Regions from separate parts of the Homo sapiens genome. Here region 1 is linked to region 2. The links are contacts of gene promoters, found by promoter capture Hi-C in human tissues and cell types (Jung and others, 2019). All regions are on one chromosome and are shown on one strand. The core of a region is centred on a gene start or on the middle of the fragment in contact, and the rest is flanking DNA. Distances in the headings are between cores, read along the strand shown.

Region 1 (4,161 bases), core at 893-3,392, 610 kb before region 2:
ATTCAATGAGCTTTAAAATTTTTTCAAAATATAAATATCAAGTAAATTTTTAGATAATTTTAAGACGGGAAATTTGGGCCAAATCTATTAAGATGAAACTAAAAAAGGGTAAATGTAATAGTCTTCATTTGCATTACATATAACATTGAGTTATTTTTAAAAACCATAAACTGGCTGGGTGTGGTGGCTCATGGCAGTAATCCCTGCACTTTGGGAGGCCCAGCCAGGTGGATCACTTGAGGTCAGGAGTTTGAGACCAGCCTGGCCAGCATGGTGAAACCCCGTCTCTACTAAAAATACAAAAATTAGCCAGGCGTGGTGGCATGCACCTGTAATCCCAGCTAACTCAGGAGGCTGAGGCAGGAGAGTCGCTTGAACATGGGAGGCAGAGGTTGCAGTGAGCTGAGACTGAGCCACTGCACTCCAGCCTGGACAACAGAGTAAGACTCTGTCTCAAAAACAAAACAAAACAAAACAAAAAAAACCAAAACCATAAACTGCCTAACAAAAGAAAAAGACAATTTGACATAATGCCGTGAAAAAAGATCTAATGGATTAGGGTAGCTACAAGCTCAATATTGATCAGCAGTGCTAAGTCATACTATTAGAAATAGCATAGCCAAATTACTGTCCTTTGCTGGTCAGAGGTCATGTGTTCCACTCTAAGACCAACCTTTAAGAAAAACACTGACATACTAGACAGCCATAGGAGATTATAAAGACTTGGAAAAATTAAATTTTAACAGGGGCAGCTAATAACAGAATATATGGTCTGGAAAAACAGGGCAAGAAAGTTTTTAATAAAGGATTATCGTGTGAACATGAGTGAGGAAACGTAATTCTGTGTTTATTCAGATGGGAAAATTTAAGGGAAACAATGTGAGTCAACTTAAGAAAAATCTTCTAACCAAGAGCTGTCCAACAATGAAACAGGCTGCTTTCTAAGACAGTAAACTTCACATTAAAAGTTCTTCAGGCACATAAGTGGCAACTACCTGCAGAGATAGTGTACTAAGAACTGTATACTGTGTGGCAGATGGAGTAATTTCTTTTCTTTTTTGGATTAGACTACACTGTGTTAATAATTTTGTAAGTAAAGAAATTCTGATATTGAGGGGAAACCCCTTTGGCCCCTCTAAAGATATCATGAGTCATTCTGAAGAATATTTTTAAAGACAGCAACTTGAAAATTAAGAACATTCCATTCGTTTCAAGTGTGATGCGGTTTGGCACAGTAAATATTTGCTGTATAGCTTATGTTTACTAGGATAGTAGAAAATATGGCTCTGGTATCTTCTTGAATTTTTTTTTAATTTTTGTAGGTACATAGTAGGTGTGTATGTTTACGCAGTATATGAGATGCTTTCATATAGGCATGCAATGTGTAATAATCACATCATGTAAAATGGGGTATTCATCCTGGGTTGGGTAATTTCTAAGATCTACTTCAACTAGAAAATTTTGACTATCACTCTTTAGAGGTAGGTAATAAAACATGGTAAGGAAGGAATTAAAATGGACAGAAGAAATGTTAGTGCTGAAGACTAAAATTAGCAAAATCTTTCAGACTTAGTATATTATAAATGAGTGCTTTTATAGGGCTCCAGGCAGACATCACATATACCATTCCAGTCAATTCTAGAATTGAGATTATGATTGCAATCAAAAGCCTACCTGATCAAAATGTCCTTCCCACAATACTAATGGAAATCCTGTATAGATGATTACCAGTGAAAGGTACTGAAATGCAAGCAACTATGATGAAATAACCTACGAGAAAATAAACTTACCCCCATCAAAATCACAAAATACACCTATTTTTTCAGGAACAGTAACATCCAAAGCTTTGACTTTATTATTATGCTTTGCTGCAAATGTGTTTTGTAGCCAGTTGTTGACATGGATACACCAACTAGTGTTTGTCTTTCCCAATTGGTCAAATTTCCCCAACGTTTTGTATGCTACTCCCACACTGTAGGATTTACAATCCTTCTGGGCCTTGACCTCCCAATAATGTTGTCCACTTTCAATAGCAGTGTCTCCTACAAAAGATCAGAAAGGTAGATTTGACTCATCTCTTCCTTATGAGTCACACAGTTTTACCTACCACTCGTCCCAAAAAAAGACACAAAAATTTTTATTCAAGTACTTTTCCTATAAGAATAATCATGTTAACACACAGACATTAAATGCTGAGTACCTGCTCTAACTTTACCTTTACGTTTAGTACTATTCTTGAATATAAAACGCTTCAGAGGTTTTCTTCCTTACTATCCCCCCTCCCGGCTTATATATAAAGATGTGGGAACACTACGTAAGCTGAAGTAGAGTTTTAAAAGTATCAATAATAATAAGACAATCTGAAAACTCCCCAAAGTAATTAGGCTTCAATTGGGAGAAATTTCTTGCAAAGATTTATTCAATATACAGGCAGTCACTTTGAGTGGAAAGTCCACCAGTGTGATTGTGATGCCTTTAATCTGAGATAATGAAAAACAATTATGTTTTGTCCTACCCAGCACTGTGTATGATTCTCCAGTAAAACGATCTCTACTGCCTCTTACTGCTGGTGGCCTGGAGCCTACAGATGTTCGTTTTGGGGATGGTGTACCACTTCTATATAAACAAAAAGAAAAAAGAAAAACAAATATTTTATACTGTAAATGTTTCATAAACTAAAACTAGAAATCATGGAAGGAACCTCTGAAAAGATTTCTAATTATGTTATAGAAATAACACCATTCAATTTGATCTGAACTAGTTAATTAAAGAGCGCTGTCAATTATAAACACTGAAATGTAAGAAGCTATCAATACAAAGCAGGCTGAAAACACTAATGGCATGCAGACTGAGCAAGGCTTATACAAAGAATACACGGCTGAAATAAGAAACAATGCTAAAATGTGACAAGATTTACTAAAGAAAAAAAAGAACTCAAGAAAGATAATGAGTTACAGCTTACATTTTTTTGCAGTTAAATGAAGGCAAAAATAGGTTTCTTCTTATAATCCTGACTAAATAACTCTTTTTATAAGCAGTGAGTATTTTTGCTCTGAATCTTACCTTCTTAAAAATAGAAATGGCGGCCAGGCACGGTGGCTCACACCTGTAATCCCAGCACTTTGGGAGGCGCCAAGGCAGGAGGATCACCTGAGGTCGGGAGTTCGAGACGAGCCTGACTAACGTGGAGAAACCCCATCTCTACTAAAAATACAAAATTAGTAGGGCGTGGTGGCACATGCCTGTAATCCCAGCTACTCGGGAGGCTGAGGCAGGAGAATCGCTTGAACCCAGGAGTCAGAGGTTGCGGGTGAGCCATGATTGCACCATTGCACTCCAGCCTAGGCAACAAGAGCAAAACTCTGTCTTAAAAAAAAAGGGACGGGGGGGCTGCACGCGGTGGCTCATGCTTCTAATCTCAGCAATTTGAGAGGCCAAGACAGGCGGATCTCGAAGTCTGGAGTTCGAGACCAGCCTGGGCAACACAGTGAAACCCCGTTTCTACTAAAAATACAAAAATTAGCTGGGTGTGGTTGTGGGTGCCTGTAATCCCAGCTACTCGGGAGGCTGAGGCAGGAGAATTGCCTGAACCCAGGAAGCAGAGGTTGTAGTGAGCCGAGATGGCGCCACTGCACTCCAGCCTGGGCAACAGGGCTAGACGCCATCTCAAAAAAAAAAAAAAAAAAAAAAAAGATGGAAATGGCAATTATCCAAATCCTTGCACAGGATAATATCAAGTATTATCAAGCATTTCTCCTACTCAAATAGACAAGATCCACCTTGACTTCCTCTTATATCAAATTATATGATATATGGAAAACTGGAGTATTGGGATGTTTACTAACATTCAAAAACTCAAAACAGATTCAGTCCCAAAGATGTTTTCAAAAACATTTTAATTATATTGAATTACTGCATTTAACAAAAGATTTTTTGGTCAAGATTATCCTAAAAGTATTTGGGGGATATGGGGATAACTATATTCTCACCACTAGTTAGAAATAAAAACACTTTTTTCTAACATAGCACTAGAAATTTTCTTCCTAAGAAAAGATCAACTGAGTAGATTTTAATATAAGCTACCAATACTAGACTAGAAATCCCTGATGGCAAAGCAAGAATACAGATAAAACTTAAAGTCATTTCATATGATTCATTTCA
Region 2 (4,119 bases), core at 1,571-4,070:
TGCACTCCAGCCTGGGCAACAAAAGGTGAAACTCCATCTCAATTAAAAAAAAAATAATGATTTTGGTGGTCGACTTCAAATAGGTAGGAGAAGAAGGAGAGAGGAGATGGAGGGTCAGGGAGATCTAATTACTCTCTAAAATCATGCTAGGAAAGATAACACCTTTTAATAACACTCTCTGCTTTTATAACATCATTCTGCCAAGGAGCTCAAAGGTTTCAACAAAGTTCACTTTCAGAAAACCCCTTTGAGGAAGACAGAATATACATCTTCTCTCCATTTTAAAGATGAAGAAACAGGCCGGGCACAATGGCTAATGCCTGTAATCCCAGCACTTTGGGAGGCTGAGGCCAGAGGATCGCTTGAGCTCCAGAGTTTGAGACCAGCCTGGATAACATGGCAAAACCCTGTCTCTACAAAAAAAATACGAAAATTAGATGGGTGTGGTGGCATGCACCTGTGGTCCCAGCTACTTGGGAGGCTAAGGTGGGAGGATCGCTTGAGCCCAGGGAGTCAAGTCTACACTGAGCCATGATTGGATCACTGCACTCCAGCCTGGGTAGACAGAGCAAGACCCTGTCTCAAAAAAAAGAAATGAAAGAGAAAGAAAGAAAGAGGAGAGGAGAGGAGATGAGGGGAGGGGAGGGGAGGAGGGAGGGGGGGAGGAAGGAAGGAAGGAAGGAAGGAAAAAAAGATGAAAAAAGAAAAAAACAAGATGAAACAGAGGCAGAAAGACTTTACGTAAATTGCTCATCATGTGGTTGTCAAGTTTGACCCCAAAACCCAATTTATTGACCAAGGTTATTCTTTGACTGAGGCAAGGGGGTCCGCTCTCCTGGGCCTTGGGCTTTAGAAAGCTCATCTCTGGCCTTTCTGAGATCCATCCCTTTCTTTTTATTTTTCTTGACACGGAGTCTTGCTCTGTCACTCAGGCTGGAGTGCAGTGGCATGATCTCGACTCACTGTAACCTCTGCCTCCCGGGTTCAAGCGATTCTCCTGCCTCAGCCTCCTGAGATAACAGGCGCTCGCCACCACATCTGGCTAATTTTTGTATTTTTAGTAAAGACTGGGTTTCATCATGTTGGCCAGGTTGGTTTCGAACTCCTGACCTGAGGTGAGCTGCCCACCTTGGCCTCCCAAAGTGCTGGGATTACAGGCATGAGCCACTGCGCCCAGCTCAGATCCATCCCTTTCTAAGGGCAAACAGTCCATGGTGCAAAGGGGCCATGCCACCCAGAGTTATGAGTACCTGGGACTCCAGAATTCCTTGCCTGGTGGCCTCCACATGCACTTCCAGGGCCTGCTTGGGCCTCTTCTATGGGTCTGTCCTGAGTGTTGATAGAACCACTGATGTGAGTACCTGGGCTTGAGCCGTGGCCTGGAGATCCTGTTGACTGTAGCATGGAGGGGGCTTGTGCAGCTGAATGTCTGTATGCAGGTGGTGGGAGTTCTGGAATATGATGGAGCTGGAGGTGGGAAGAGAAGTAGGCTTGGGGCAGCTCTCTCATGCCACCTCATTCTGGCCAAAACTCAGGTCAAACTGTGAAGAGTCTAAATGTGAATCTGCCCTTCAAGGTGGCTACAAAGGTATCTTTGTCAAGGTAGGAGACCTTGTGGCCTCCACGTGCACTTCCAGGGCCTGCTTGGGCCTCTTCTACGGGTCTGTCCTGAGTCTTCTATGAATCTGCCCTTCAGGGCAGATTCATATTTAGACTCTTCACAGTTTGACCTGAGTTTTGGCCAGAATAAGGTGACATTTAGTTTGTTGGCTTGATGGATGACTTAAATATTTAGACATATGGTGTGTAGGCCTGCATTCCTACTCTTGCCTTTTTTTTTGCCCCTCCAGTGTTTTGGGTAGTTTTGCTCCCCTACAGCCAAAGGCAAACAGATAAGTTGGAGGTCTGGAGTGGCTACATAATTTTACACGACTGCAATTCTCTGGCTGCACTTCACAAATGTATACAAACTAAATACAAGTCCTGTGTTTTTATCACAGGGAGGCTGATCAATATAATGAAATTAAAAGGGGGCTGGTCCATATTGTTCTGTGTTTTTGTTTGTTTGTTTCTTTTTTTGTTTTTGTGGCCTCCTTCCTCTCAATTTATGAAGAGAAGCAGTAAGATGTTCCTCTCGGGTCCTCTGAGGGACCTGGGGAGCTCAGGCTGGGAATCTCCAAGGCAGTAGGTCGCCTATCAAAAATCAAAGTCCAGGTTTGTGGGGGGAAAACAAAAGCAGCCCATTACCCAGAGGACTGTCCGCCTTCCCCTCACCCCAGCCTAGGCCTTTGAAAGGAAACAAAAGACAAGACAAAATGATTGGCGTCCTGAGGGAGATTCAGCCTAGAGCTCTCTCTCCCCCAATCCCTCCCTCCGGCTGAGGAAACTAACAAAGGAAAAAAAAATTGCGGAAAGCAGGATTTAGAGGAAGCAAATTCCACTGGTGCCCTTGGCTGCCGGGAACGTGGACTAGAGAGTCTGCGGCGCAGCCCCGAGCCCAGCGCTTCCCGCGCGTCTTAGGCCGGCGGGCCCGGGCGGGGGAAGGGGACGCAGACCGCGGACCCTAAGACACCTGCTGTACCCTCCACCCCCACCCCACCCACCTCCCCCCAACTCCCTAGATGTGTCGTGGGCGGCTGAACGTCGCCCGTTTAAGGGGCGGGCCCCGGCTCCACGTGCTTTCTGCTGAGTGACTGAACTACATAAACAGAGGCCGGGAACGGGGCGGGGAGGAGGGAGAGCACAGGCTTTGACCGATAGTAACCTCTGCGCTCGGTGCAGCCGAATCTATAAAAGGAACTAGTCCCGGCAAAAACCCCGTAATTGCGAGCGAGAGTGAGTGGGGCCGGGACCCGCAGAGCCGAGCCGACCCTTCTCTCCCGGGCTGCGGCAGGGCAGGGCGGGGAGCTCCGCGCACCAACAGAGCCGGTTCTCAGGGCGCTTTGCTCCTTGTTTTTTCCCCGGTTCTGTTTTCTCCCCTTCTCCGGAAGGCTTGTCAAGGGGTAGGAGAAAGAGACGCAAACACAAAAGTGGAAAACAGGTAAGAGGCTCTCCAGTGACTTACTTGGGCGTTATTGTTTTGTTTCGAGGCCAAGGAGGCTTCGGGAAGTGCTCGGTTTCGGGGACTTTGATCCGGAGCCCCACATCCCCACCACTTGCAACTCAGATGGGACCGGAGGCGGTGTTAAATGGGGAGACGATGTCCTAGTACGAGCTCTGGTGACCCCAGGACTCTGCGCTGCTGCGCTTGGGGCTTGCCCGACGGTGGAGACCGGGGAGCATCTCTGGGCGTGGAGACCCGGGCGCAGTACCCCGGGCTCAGAGGGGTCGGGGGTTCCCGGGCGTGCTGAGGGCGCTGCTGCCGGGTGGGGAGAGCTGCAGGTCCGGCACCGAGCGCTGCTTTGTTCGGAGGGCCCTGAGCTGGCTAGAAACCCTTCTGGTTGCAGGTCGGCCAGTACCTACGGAGACAAATGCCAGCACTGAGTCTTCACTCGGTTCTTAAGAAGCTGGTCTGTTCTGACCTGGGAATTGGCTATATGCTCCCCGGGACTGGAGCGGCACAGTCCCGGACTGTGAATCCGGGAACTCGAGTTGGAGGTGTCCCAAACGGTCCGTGGTGCTATTGCTCACTAGAGGCCTTGGGTCTTTGTTTGACCTGAGGGGTAGGGAGGTCCTGCCTACAGTCTCCGTGCGCTCAGCTGAGCTGGTGTCCCTGGCGCAGAGCGCGGACGAGTTTTGTTTCCTTTTCTTTTTCTTTTTTTTCTTTCCTTTAAGTCTCGGTCTGTCGCCCAGGCTGGAGTGCAATGGAACGATCTCCGCTCACTGCAACCTCCGCCTCCCGGGTTCAAGCGATTCTCCTGCCTCAGCCTCCTGAGTAGCTGGGATTACAGGCGCGTCACCACATCCAGCTAATTTTTGTATTTTTAGTAGAGACGGGGTTTCAACTTGTTGGCCAGGCTGGTCTCGAACCCTCGACCTCAGGTGATCCACCGGCCTCGGCCTCCCCAAGTGCTGGGATTATAGGCGTGAGCCACCGCGCGCGGCCGAGTTTTGTTTCTTTTAAAAACAAGACTTAGGAGAGCCTGCGGAGACCCGGAGGTGGGGTGCCCAATCCTCCCT

The links. The method cuts DNA at HindIII sites, captures the fragments that hold promoters and counts their contacts. A contact is called where the count stands out against the background at its distance.
Region 1: a fragment that was not itself captured here is called in contact with the fragment with the promoter of ABCA1 in region 2 in 1 of the 25 tissues and cell types used here (dorsolateral prefrontal cortex).

What each region holds. Positions count from the first base shown.
Region 1 is chr9:105,532,948-105,537,108 of GRCh38, reverse strand. FSD1L (fibronectin type III and SPRY domain containing 1 like) reads right to left here. Exons shown (of 14, transcript NM_001145313.3): 11 at 2,516-2,616; 12 at 1,791-2,042. Among named protein-coding and RNA genes, the nearest start is that of FKTN, 23 kb to the left of the region's middle. The HindIII fragment of the contact is 5,852 bases long and covers 1-4,161 here.
Region 2 is chr9:104,926,856-104,930,974 of GRCh38, reverse strand. It overlaps ABCA1 (ATP binding cassette subfamily A member 1), which reads left to right and starts at 2,820. Exons shown (of 50, transcript NM_005502.4): 1 at 2,820-3,040. It overlaps LOC105376196 (a long non-coding RNA gene), which reads right to left. Exons shown (of 3, transcript NR_188620.1): 1 at 3,065-4,119; 2 at 1,251-1,467. RefSeq lists a silencer at 2,661-2,850 and enhancers at 3,051-3,130, 3,451-3,510. The HindIII fragment of the contact is 15,965 bases long and covers 1-4,119 here.